Regions from separate parts of the Homo sapiens genome. Here regions 2, 3 and 4 are each linked to region 1. Evidence: promoter capture Hi-C in 16 types of primary human blood cells and fetal thymus (Javierre and others, 2016). All regions are on one chromosome and are shown on one strand. The core of a region is centred on a gene start or on the middle of the fragment in contact, and the rest is flanking DNA. Distances in the headings are between cores, read along the strand shown. Region 1 holds the start of AKT2 (AKT serine/threonine kinase 2). Region 2 holds the start of EID2B (EP300 interacting inhibitor of differentiation 2B). Region 3 holds the start of CLC (Charcot-Leyden crystal galectin). Region 4 holds the start of PAF1 (PAF1 component of Paf1/RNA polymerase II complex).

What was found. Contacts are between HindIII fragments. The CHiCAGO score rates a contact against its expected background, and 5 or more counts as called.
Region 2: the fragment with the promoter of EID2B here is called in contact with the fragment with the promoter of AKT2 in region 1 in 3 of 17 cell types (neutrophils, M1 macrophages and erythroblasts); the score reaches 7.9 in neutrophils.
Region 3: a contact is called between the fragment with the promoter of CLC here and the fragment with the promoter of AKT2 in region 1, in 3 of 17 cell types (naive CD8 T cells, fetal thymus and total B cells). The highest score is 5.3, in naive CD8 T cells.
Region 4: a contact is called between the fragment with the promoter of PAF1 here and the fragment with the promoter of AKT2 in region 1, in 1 of 17 cell types (activated CD4 T cells). The highest score is 6.5, in activated CD4 T cells.

Annotation. Positions count from the first base shown.
Region 1 is chr19:40,284,082-40,286,781 of GRCh38, forward strand. AKT2 (AKT serine/threonine kinase 2) reads right to left here and starts at 1,264. Exons shown (of 14, transcript NM_001626.6): 1 at 1,100-1,264. RefSeq lists enhancers at 289-428, 1,585-2,416 and a silencer at 799-1,298. The HindIII fragment of the contact is 30,037 bases long and covers 1-2,700 here.
Region 2 is chr19:39,531,582-39,534,281 of GRCh38, forward strand. It overlaps EID2B (EP300 interacting inhibitor of differentiation 2B), which reads right to left and starts at 1,271. Exons shown (of 1, transcript NM_152361.3): 1 at 1-1,271. The coding sequence starts at 1,221. The coding sequence ends at 736. The HindIII fragment of the contact is 7,702 bases long and covers 1-2,700 here.
Region 3 is chr19:39,736,644-39,739,343 of GRCh38, forward strand. CLC (Charcot-Leyden crystal galectin) reads right to left here and starts at 1,386. Exons shown (of 4, transcript NM_001828.6): 1 at 1,295-1,386. The coding sequence starts at 1,309. The HindIII fragment of the contact is 8,050 bases long and covers 1-2,700 here.
Region 4 is chr19:39,389,853-39,392,552 of GRCh38, forward strand. PAF1 (PAF1 component of Paf1/RNA polymerase II complex) reads right to left here and starts at 1,254. Exons shown (of 14, transcript NM_019088.4): 1 at 966-1,254; 2 at 408-437; 3 at 217-309. The coding sequence starts at 1,012. It overlaps MED29 (mediator complex subunit 29), which reads left to right and starts at 1,526. Exons shown (of 4, transcript NM_017592.4): 1 at 1,526-1,786; 2 at 2,612-2,670. The coding sequence starts at 1,571. It also overlaps a transcript of SAMD4B not described here. RefSeq lists a silencer at 1-43 and an enhancer at 1,581-1,870. The HindIII fragment of the contact is 958 bases long and covers 633-1,590 here.

The DNA.
Region 1 (2,700 bases), core at 14-2,513:
AAAGCAGCCCATTGGAGGCTCTAGTTACTCCAGCCCAGGCGTCTTGCTGAGCCCCAAGAGGTCTCCAAATGAGAGGAAGAGGTCCTCACAATCCCAAGATCAAGATGCCCCCAGAGAGCTTCCCTGGGGGGAAGAGGTGTTCCCCCAAACACTCCTTCCTCCCAAGTTTTAACAAGCGGGTGCAGGGGCACGGCTCCTCAAATCCAAGCCCAATCCCTCTTCCTCTTCAGAATGTTAAGGCTCAGACAACTTCAGTGACTTCTAACACAGCTTTCCTCCCTCCCCTATGGAAGGAAAGAACTGTTACTGCCTGGTAAATAATCTGAGAGGGTAATGGAATCCAGAGCAGCACCTCCATGGTCCAAAGCACCCCAGTAACCATGACGTTCCCTCCAGAGTCGTTAAGAAGTTCAATAAAGGCTGAGATCAGTGTAAACCCCCAACGCCACACACGTCAAATACAGGAAACAGAAACCCCTCCTCACCAATCGGCATCACAGTCCTCCCAAAATACGCCCCTAAAACCCACTAGGGCCTGTCCCGCCCCGTCCCAGTCCCTTAAAGATCACAAACATCACAGTCCTCTGATTTGGGTTCCCCTACGTTCTAAGCAGGGCTCCCCCAACGCCGTGGTGATATAACCCAGCCACAGTTGGGGAAGCATCCTCCCCAGAAGCCCCCACCCCTGTAAATACAGCACAGCAACGGCTTCCACAGCGCCAAAAAGGTACAGCCCTCTACACTTGATGCGGCGCGCCCCCTCGATAGCTTAGCCCGCGCACGCCAGGCTCGATCTGCCCGCCGCGCCCGAAAGGTCCAGCCCCCGGCCCGCGCACGCTGCGGCCTGCGCTCCCCGTCCCGCAAACTTGCAGCGCTCCCCCCACCGCCTCAGTGGTATGGCCCGCCGCCACCGCCCCGGCCCCCCGAGGCTGGTCCCACCGCCCCCGCTCGGCCACCCCCACTCAGCTCCTGAAGGAGGGGCTCGAGGGCCGCGGTCCCCCCGCCGGGCACGGGTGGTACAGCCCATCGCGGCACCGCGGGGGGCCCGGACGCGACCATCGTGGGGGGGGCGTTCGGGGACACGCGCTGGCGCACTCACCTGTCACCGGCAGCCGCCCAGCCTCTCCGGCGGGGCTCTACCCCCGCCCATCGCCACGCTGCGCTGGTTCCCTTTCCTTGTGTTTCCCGGCAGCGGCAACGGCGCCGGCAGCGGCAGCGGCGGCGGCGACGCCTCCTCCGAGGCAGGCCCAACGGCTAGCACGGCGCGGCCCCCCCCGCCCCCTCCCCCCAGCCCCCGCTTACCGCCCCCTCCCACCCTCTGGACGGAAATACCGCCCTCTCGCGCCACAAACAGGAAGTGACGTACAAAGAGCCAGAGACGAACTCTGAGAGAGCGAGAGCGCAAGAGCAGGGCAGAGAAGGAGGCGGGCTCACAGCAGGGCGCCTGCGCACATTAGACAACTTTGGGCCTGTGTGGGTTAGAGATGGGCCTCGCTAGGCCGTGGGGCGGAAAGGCGAGATGGGGCTACGCAGGCGCACTAGGACTCCGACGTCTGCTTTCCCTAGGGCCTAGCCGTAGTGATTATTTCCCGGCAGCCCCTAGTCCGTATTTACATACGCTTTGATCTTGTTTTACTCAGTTCTGGGTTCTGACGCTCTTAAAGGACCCCGGAGCGGGAGTTAGTTAGGAGGGGTTTCCTTTTCAGTGTGCTCGTCATGGTTGAGCTCAGGCTCTGAAGCCACACAACCCCAGACTTGAATTTCCTCCTTTCTGGTGACTGTGGGCAGAAGGCTTGACCGTTTTCTGTGCCTCAGTATCCACATCTGCTAAATGGAAACAATCATCGCTGTGTCGCTGGCTTTTGAACCATTTTAATGTAAACAAAACGGTTTTTACCAATTAGTTCATTACTGCAAGATATTAATGCCACCTGCTCTCATCGTACATATTCCAGTGAATCTGGGATATAACATTTTATAATGCAACTTGGGCCCATAAAGGCCTTAAAATCACCCTGCGGCCGGGCGCGGTGGCTCACTCCTGTAATCCTAGCACTTGGGGAGGCCAAGGCAGACGGATCATGAGGTCAGGAGTTCGAGACAGCCTGGCCAACATAGTGAAACCCCGTCTCTACTCAAAATACAAAAAAAAAAAAAAAAGCCGGGCATGTCGGTGTGTGCCTGTAATCCCAACTACTTGGGAGGCTTGAGGCAGGAGAATCGCGTGAACCCGGGAGGCAGAGGTTTCAGTGAGCCGAGATCATGCCATTGCACTCCGGCCCGGGCGACAGTGCAAGTCTCCGTCTCAAAAAAAAAAAAAAAAAAGAAAAGAAAGAAAAAAGAAAAAAAATGACCCTGCAAGAAAAGAGCTTTGCACAGATCCTAATCCGTATATTAGCTAGTATACTGGACAGCTGTGAGACATCTGGCTCCCAGCCCCTCCTCTCTCATAGGGGATTGTGCTGCCTCCTGAATTTGGGTTCCAGTATGCCATATAACTTGGCAATTGTATGCATTGGTAAGTGAGAAAAATGCCTGACTGAGAGTTGAATCCTGGGTCCACCTCAGTCTGTGAGAGTGTTTCAGGCAAATCCTGCTGAGGGTTCGGCTTTCGTTTTCTGAGACGTAAACCTAATGCTGGAACTAGCCCTTTCTTATTTGGTTTCTAGCTTGGAACTTGCTGCTTGGTATTCCTAATTC
Region 2 (2,700 bases), core at 21-2,520, 750 kb before region 1:
AGACTTGAAAACACTGATCATATAATACGTGGTTTTTTCTATTGAATATTTACTGTTCATCTAAAGTACCTCAGAAAACACAAATATGAATCTTACACTAGGATTTGTTGACATGACCACAAATTGTGAAATTTCAAAGTCCTCTCAATAGCCTTCCAATCCTAGTAACTCAGGTACACCTGGATTCCTGACAACTCTATTTCTTTGTTTTCTTTCATCACTTAGGTTCATTTCTATGGGTTCTGTTATTGGCATTTTTTTTTTCTCATATCTTTGCAAAACCATCCTTTATGGTGAAAGTCATGAAGGATTCTTCACAAATGCAGGAAAATGCATTGCTAACAAAGTGCTAAGTCAGAAGTGTCTTGGGACCTGTTTGAAAACAAGATTCGGCCGGGCGCGGTGGCTCACGCCTGTAAAGTAATCCCAGCACTTTGGGAGGCCGAAGCGGGAGGATCGCTCGGGTCCAAGCGTTCGGGACCAGCCTAGGGATGCGAGACTCCCTTCTCTATTTAAATAATACTAAAAAAGAAGAAAGAAAACAAGATTCAACAGTCTTGTCTGTTTCCATTTCGGAGTGTGCTTCCTCCTTCAATTGCACATTGCCGTATTCCCTTCCAGTTTGCATTCCCCCTAATGACTGAGTTAACTAAACTGGCACAGCCTGCCTGTTCTTTTGATCCCAAAAGGGTCACTTGGCTATTCCTTGCCACCAATGTCATCATCACAGCCGACTCAGTCGGCCAGAGGACTGAGGGCCTCGGAGGCAGTCAGCGCTACCGTAAACGCGACAGCAGCGAAGTCCATCTGCGGGGGATCCGCGTCAAAGGCTGCTTCCCTCGCCTTGCAGCCTTCCACAAACAGCCTGCGGCGTTCCTCGAAATCCCGTAGTAATCTGACCGGAATCATGGAGCTACCATCCAGATACTCGCGGAACAACAGCTGCCGGTTAATTTCTAAGAAAGCGAGCTGCTGATGGGGGTCTGGCGCGGAGGCCAGGCCCGGGACGCTGCTGGGGATGGGCCCGGGCACAGGGCCCGGCATCCGCGCCATGGACCGCGCAGCTTCGGCCACTGGGCCTTCCCGAGCCTCCTGCACCCGAACCCCGCCGCCGACTGCCCCCCGCAGTACGTCGCTGACGCCACTCGCGGTGCCCACCTGTGGGACACTGCTATCTCCGGGGAGCTCGGACATCTCCAACAGCCCAGTCGGCTCCGCCATAGTCCCAGCGTTTCTACGGAGACTGGAATAACGGCACTGCACTGCTGTATGCGAGACCTGCGCATGCGCGAGTCTCAGTGAGCGCGTAAACGCTGTGCGTGCCAGAGTGTGCGCATGCGTAAGCACGGTGGCCAATCCTCTAGCGTTCCCTAGCGGTCCTGAGTAGCCATTACGTCTGTAGCCGCCTCTGGTCCTCTGAGCGCCTGAGGACCTGCGGACTGCGCGGTATCTTAAATTACAACCACTTCAGTATTAATGTAAAGTTCCTTATACGGTCATTTTCCAGCTCCTGTCTTTTTTTTTTTTTTTTCAGACTGGGTCTCGCCCTGTCGCCTAGGCTGGAGTGCAGTGGTGCGATCTCGGTTACTGCTGCTTTGACCTCCCAGCCTCAAGCCATCCTCCTGCCTCAGCCTCTGGAGTAACTGGAACTACAGGTGCACACAACCACACCCAGCTGATTTTTTATTTTTTGTAGAAATTGGGTCTCACTATGTTGCCCAGGCTGGTCTCGAACTCCTGGACTCAAGTGATCATCCTGCCTTGGCCTCCCAAAGTGCTGGGATTACCGGCCTGAGCCACTCGGCCTGGCCTGTAAGTAATATTTTGACACTGGAAGTTTGGGGGTTTCCCAAAACCACCTTTAGGTTTGATAATTCCCAGAGCTCATTGAAATCTGTTATATTCACAGTCATGCTTATTACAGGCAAAGGACACAGATTAGAAGAGATGTATAAGGCACAATCTGGGATGGGGAGGGTTCCAAATGTGAAGTTCCTGTGTTCCTAGGGATGTGTTACCCTTTGTCGTCCATGTGTGGCAATAAGTGTGGGGGTAGTGCTAACATAGGACTCTCACCCAGGCTTTGGTGTCCAGAGTTTTTACTGGGGTTTTACTACCTAGGCATGCTTGATTAAACCATCGTCCATTTTGTTGAAGTCAATCTCCAGCCTCCTACCTGATATCACATGGCTCCAAGCCCCAACTCTCTAATGATATGGTTAGCCTTTCTGTGTGGCTAGCTCTGATCCTGATGATAACCCAAAACGTGAAAGTCTATGTTCCATTTAAAATCAGTCAGCTGTGGCTGGGTGTAGTGGCTCATGCCTGTAATCCCAGCAAGTTGGGAGGCAAAGGTGGGAGGATCGCTTGAGCCCATGAGTTTGAGACCAGCCTGGGCAACATAGTGAGACCCCTGTCCCTACAGAAAAAAAAAATTAGGCAGGCATGGTGGCATGTGCACCTGTAGTCTCAGCTATTCAGGAGGCTGAGGTGGGAGGATGACTTGAGCTTGGTAGGTGGACTGTGCAGTGAGCTATGATTGCACCACTGCACTCCAGCCCTGTATGACAGAGCAAGACCCTGTCTCGAAAAAAAATCCTTTGAATTTAGCTGGAATCCAAATATGAGAGTTGCTGGCAATTGAACTTCAGGAGGATCCATCTAAAAATTCTGACCTATCACAGGTCGTGTCTGGGAGCT
Region 3 (2,700 bases), core at 136-2,635, 550 kb before region 1:
ACAAGCCTGTAATCCCAGCTACTCGGGAAGCTGAGGTATGAGAATCGCTTGAACCCGGGAGGTGGAGGTTGCAGTGAGCCGAGATTGCACCACTGCACTCCAGCCTGGGAAACAGAGCGAGACTCTGTCTCAAAAAAAAAAAAAAAAAATTACTGCAGGTTTGAAGGCCTGGGCTTCAGTGAACCTCTTGCATATGCCCCCCAGCAGCTGGAACTACGGTATGCAACACCACATTCAATAAATTTTTAAATTTTTGGAAAGATGAAATCTTGCTATGTCTCCCAGGCTGGTCTACCAGTCCTGGCCTGACATGGGCCTTTCAATTCGGCCACCCAAAGTGCTGAGACTACAGGCCTCAGCAAACATCTTGATGAATATCCACTGTAAGCTCTGCCTTGTACCTTCCTGGTTTTGGGTGATTCAGTCTCTTAAATCAAGTCCCTCAATGTCCTTCTCTAGCATCCTGGCACTCAATGGGAAGGCCAGGCTAGGGTAGGAGACAGGGAGAGACCTGAGGCTGGAGGCAGGAGCCAGTGGTCACTGTGTGCAGATTCCACCTAAGGAACCATCAGCCCCATCGTCTGTTTCTCACCCCCATTCTGCTTGGGAAAAGGCACCTGAGAATTCATGCATTCTGCTCTCATAAATGCTCAGAGATAAGTCCTCGGTAACTCAAGGGCCCCAAGATCCCACAAGTTCTGTCACCGGGGATCCACAGTGATGCACAAGGGAAGTTAGACAGAGTACTGCTATGTGGGGAGGAACCTTCACATGCACAGAAGGCCACATGCATGTTCCCAGTTCAACACCCAGTCACATTCCAGCACACACACTCACAGTCACACAGAGCCGTGCCACTCACTGAGTCACACACACCTGCTCACTGTGCATATAAAGATGCTCATGCACTGGTCCGGCTGTGCTCACACACACACTCACATCACAGTCATGAAGACAAAACACAGTCACCTGATTACAATCACTTACACACCCACCCATATCCTGGAGGGCCATACACATCCCGTCTAAAGTCACATCATTTTTAGCAGAGTTTACTCTCATCAGATACCATCACATGCTCACAGAGGGTCACAATGTTCCAGCATCCACACCCCCTACCCCCCTACCCCAGGAGCATCTCAGATACCATAGCCCTAGGGTCTCTCTTCCACACACCCACAACTCTCAGTAAAGCATTCACAGTAGAAATTTTCATATTTTCATCCCATAAAATCTCCCTCTTCCCTTTTCTGTGTGACCTGAGATTATTGAAGGCTGTGCCTTTTTAACTCACGGGTAGCAGGGACATTGTTGTCTCCTTCTGGGTGGCTCTTCTGAATTGTGTCCAGACTTCTGTGTGAATCTCTGAGCTGCAGAATTTAAATGGCCCCTATCAGCCCTGCCTCTGGCTTTATTCCTGATTCCAAGCCCCTCCCAGGAAGGTTTCCTCACACAGTGAGAAGGGGTGGGGTGTCAGAAACAGACTCAGTCACAACCACACCTGTTTGGAGGCCTGTGCCTGTGATGCAGCAGAAACGACAGTGAGGGAGGTACTGGAGGAGGAAGGGGTCACCAGGGAAATGCACAGATAAAGACGATGGAGTGAGGATGAGTGGTGTGAGTTCCAGCCTCCATGCTTCTCATGAAGCCTTTTCTCCACTGTGCAGAATCTACCAGGAAGGTGTGCGTTCTCCTAACCTGTGCAATGGTAAAAAGCTGGAGATCCTGGGGGCAAGGCACTTGGCTTTGAAAGAAAATCCTCCTCCTCCTTCTCCAGTGGTTCTGGGAGAGCATAGATCTTGATCATTCGCAGGACCTGGGGACAGAAGTAGAGAAAACACTTGTGTCTTCTTTACCCACCCTCAGATCCCTTGGCTCTGCCAGGTGAGAGCCACTCCCACTCTGTCTCTCAGACACCTGGGCTTTAGGTACGCCCTCTTATTTCCCTATTTCTTTTCATGTGAATCAAAATCTGAGGCTGTCGTTCTCCTGCAGATTCTTGGAGAAAGGTGAGATTTCTCACTCATAAGTGGGAGCTAAGCGATGAGGATGCATTAGCATTAATATTAGTTGTGCTTGACCCGACAATAAATTCCACTTTCCCTGATCTAAAACCTTGACAATTCATTTCCAAGCATGCACTCCAAGATTCTGCTCATATAAATCAGCACAATCACACAGTTCTTTTGGTATATAACGTATTTCCTTAAGATTAATTTGTAATGTCATCCCACTGCATTCCTTGGGTTTTGACTCTGGGTATGGACATGGAAGCAATGAAAAGGGTCAGAGGCCACAATTAAGGAGCTTTGGAAACCCCGTTCTAGGCAACCACCCTCACACCCTGCCCAGAACTGTAGCTTGTAAGAAATTACCACAGAAGGGAAAGAGGAACTGCTTTTCCTTGCAACAGATATGCAATAGAATTTTGAGTAATATCCCAGCTATTCATCTGAACTGGGGAAGAAATATCAGTTCAGGGCGTCTGGCCACCTAGTAAGCTGTGGATAAAGATGTTGATGTTATTTACTTCTCAGGCATTCCAGCAATCCTTTCAGTGATGCAGAGAGATTGATCTTCTTTAACTTCCATATCCTCTGCACAATAGCCCATACTTCTGCTGGTTGCAACTATTTCTTCAGAAATCCATTATGCCCTACGACTTGCTTTCAGTCTTTCTTTTCAACTACATCTTTCCAA
Region 4 (2,700 bases), core at 4-2,503, 890 kb before region 1:
CTCAGAATGAAGTGTCCCCCATGGCAGAGTCTGAAAGCTGGCTCCCCAGTGGGAAGGGACTTGGACACTGCTTGCTCCATTAACAATTGAGCAGCTACTACTATGTGCTAGGGTAGGTACTGTGCTAGGCCCTGAGCAGACAGCAGCCAACGAGACAAGCAGTCCCTGCCTTCAAGGAACTCATACCTGAGTAGTTTTCCCATTCCTTAGTCTCACCTGTTCTGGTCGAAGGGGTAGGTGATGAACTTGGGGTCGAAGGGGATATCAGGGAGGCTATTGCAGTACTTGACTCGGCAGACCACTCCAGACCTAGGAACATTAGTGGCTCAAAAGTGGGCCCCCGCTGCCCCACCTCTGCTCCCAGCCCCACTGCCCCACCGCTCCTGGGAAAGCACAGTGGGGCTCACCTCTCAGGCAGAGTCCGGTGGGAATTGGGCCTAGTGGAGAAGAAAGAAACAGTGATAGGTGGAGAGGACGGGATTGACAGGAGAATGAAAAAGGCTTCCCCAACCTTTCAAAAGGTAGGAGGGGTGACAAATGCTGGTTTCTTTGGGTGGTGGTGTGGGGAGTGTCCAAATGCTTTAATGGAAGGAGACAAATGTTCAATTTATTTAGGAAGAAATGCCCCCAAAAGCTTTAATGAACAAGGCCAAGTGCTCAATCCCTTTTGCAGGAGATGGCTTCAAGTGCTTTAATAAAGAACCATGTACTCAATCGTCTTCGGAAGAGGGGTCTCCAAACGGTTGACTGGAGGGATCCCTTCTGGAGGGAGTCTCCAAAAGCCTAATCCCTGAACTGCACGGCGGGGAGGAGGGGAACACCTGAATCTCAGAAGGAACCCGCCCCCTTCGTCAAAGGTGAGCGCTTCATGACGTCACGGGCAGACCTGGGGGCTGGTGACGTTGTTCAGCAGAAACCCTCTCCCGATCCCCCGCCTTGCTGCAACAGAAAAGCGTGGCGCCTACCTGTGGCCATCCTCCCGCTGGGCCTGGGTCTGGATGGTGGGCGCCATAGCGACGAGGCGACGGCAGCCCGGACGGGGTCCTAGCGGGACCGAAGGGGGACGCAGAGGGGCGTGCCGACTTCAGGGGACGCCTGATCCGAGGAAGGCCCAGCTTGGCGCCGCTCCCCGCGGAAAGTGGGTTGAGATGAGGTGGGCGGGCGAGAAGAGCTCCAGCGAGACTCAGGTGAACGCGCAGGCAGCACCGGGGACGGACTCGAAGCTCCGGTTCCACCAACTGCCGCCAAGACGCTGAGGACCCAACGGGTCTCCTCAGGCCGCGACGCCTTCGGGGAAATGAAGTCCGGCTCGGAACCACACACGGATTGGCGAGCGTCTGGGTGAAGGGCGGAGCGAGGGAGAGAGGTGCTTCTGTGATTGGTGGAGAGATATCTCAGTCTGGACGCAGATTTGAGAGTGACGTAACGTTGGGGCACCTCCTTCCCCTCCATTGGCTTAATTGCCTAGGGGGCGGGACTAACTAGCAAACGGGGACTAGAAATAGGGATGCTGAAAAGCAACGGGGAGAGACGCAGTCGTAACGCACTTCCGGCGGTCTACGCGAGGAAGATGGCTGCATCCCAGCAGCAAGCTTCAGCGGCTTCCTCAGCTGCTGGTGTATCGGGTCCTAGTTCGGCTGGCGGCCCGGGTCCCCAGCAGCAGCCGCAACCGCCAGCACAACTGGTGGGCCCTGCCCAGAGCGGCCTCCTGCAGCAACAGCAACAGGACTTCGATCCTGTGCAGCGTTATAAGATGCTCATCCCGCAGCTGAAGGAGAGTCTACAGGTGATTGGCCTTAAGCAGCGAGAAGCAAACTGGATTTGGTAGTCTAGAGGGGCAGGCCGAGGGCCAGGTTAGTCGGAGAGAGCGCTAAGCAGAAAGAGGAATAGAACCTGCTGTTTTGGCCTGGCTGGTGCACGCCTGTGTTCCCAGCACTTTGGGAGGCCGAGGCGGGCGGATCACTTGAGGTCAGGAGTTCAAGACCAGCCTGGTGAAACCTCGTCTCTACTAAAAATACAAAAATTAGCCGGGCATGGTGGCGCGCGCCTGTAATTACAGCTACTCGGGAAGCTGAGGCAGGAGAATCGCTTGAACCCAGGAGGCGGAGGTTGCAGTGAGCCGACATCGTGCCATTGCACTCCAGCCTGGGCAACAGAGCGAGACTCCGTCAAAAAAATAAATAAATAAATAAATAAAACTGTTGTTTTCTGCGAGACCTAAGCGAAGCTCGGCAGAGATGGGATCAGCGCTGATGCTGAGGCTGGGACTGGCCGGAGCTTGAGTGAGGGGTTGTTTAAAGGAGAAACTGGGCTCTGGTCGTTAAAGCCTGAGGAGAGTACTGGCTTATACGGAGATTCTGCCCTTGATTGATAGGTGAGGGAGGACCCTTAGGTTATTGGCGAGAAGCTCAGGTGAGAGCGGGCCTCTGGGAGGATGGAGTGGTGACAGCTATAGGAATGGAAACGAATATTACTTTGGAAAGTCAGGAGGGAAGGTGCCAGTTGAAAAGAAAACCTGAGACTGAGTGATCTCAAGAAAGAGTGTAGATCTGCCAGAGGTATTCCCTTTTGTTTTTCCATTTCCCACGTGTTTTGTTTTTGTTTTGACTAGACCTTGATGAAGGTTGCGGCCCAAAACTTGATTCAGAACACTAACATCGACAATGGACAGTGAGTGCAGCCCCCTTTACCAGGATATTC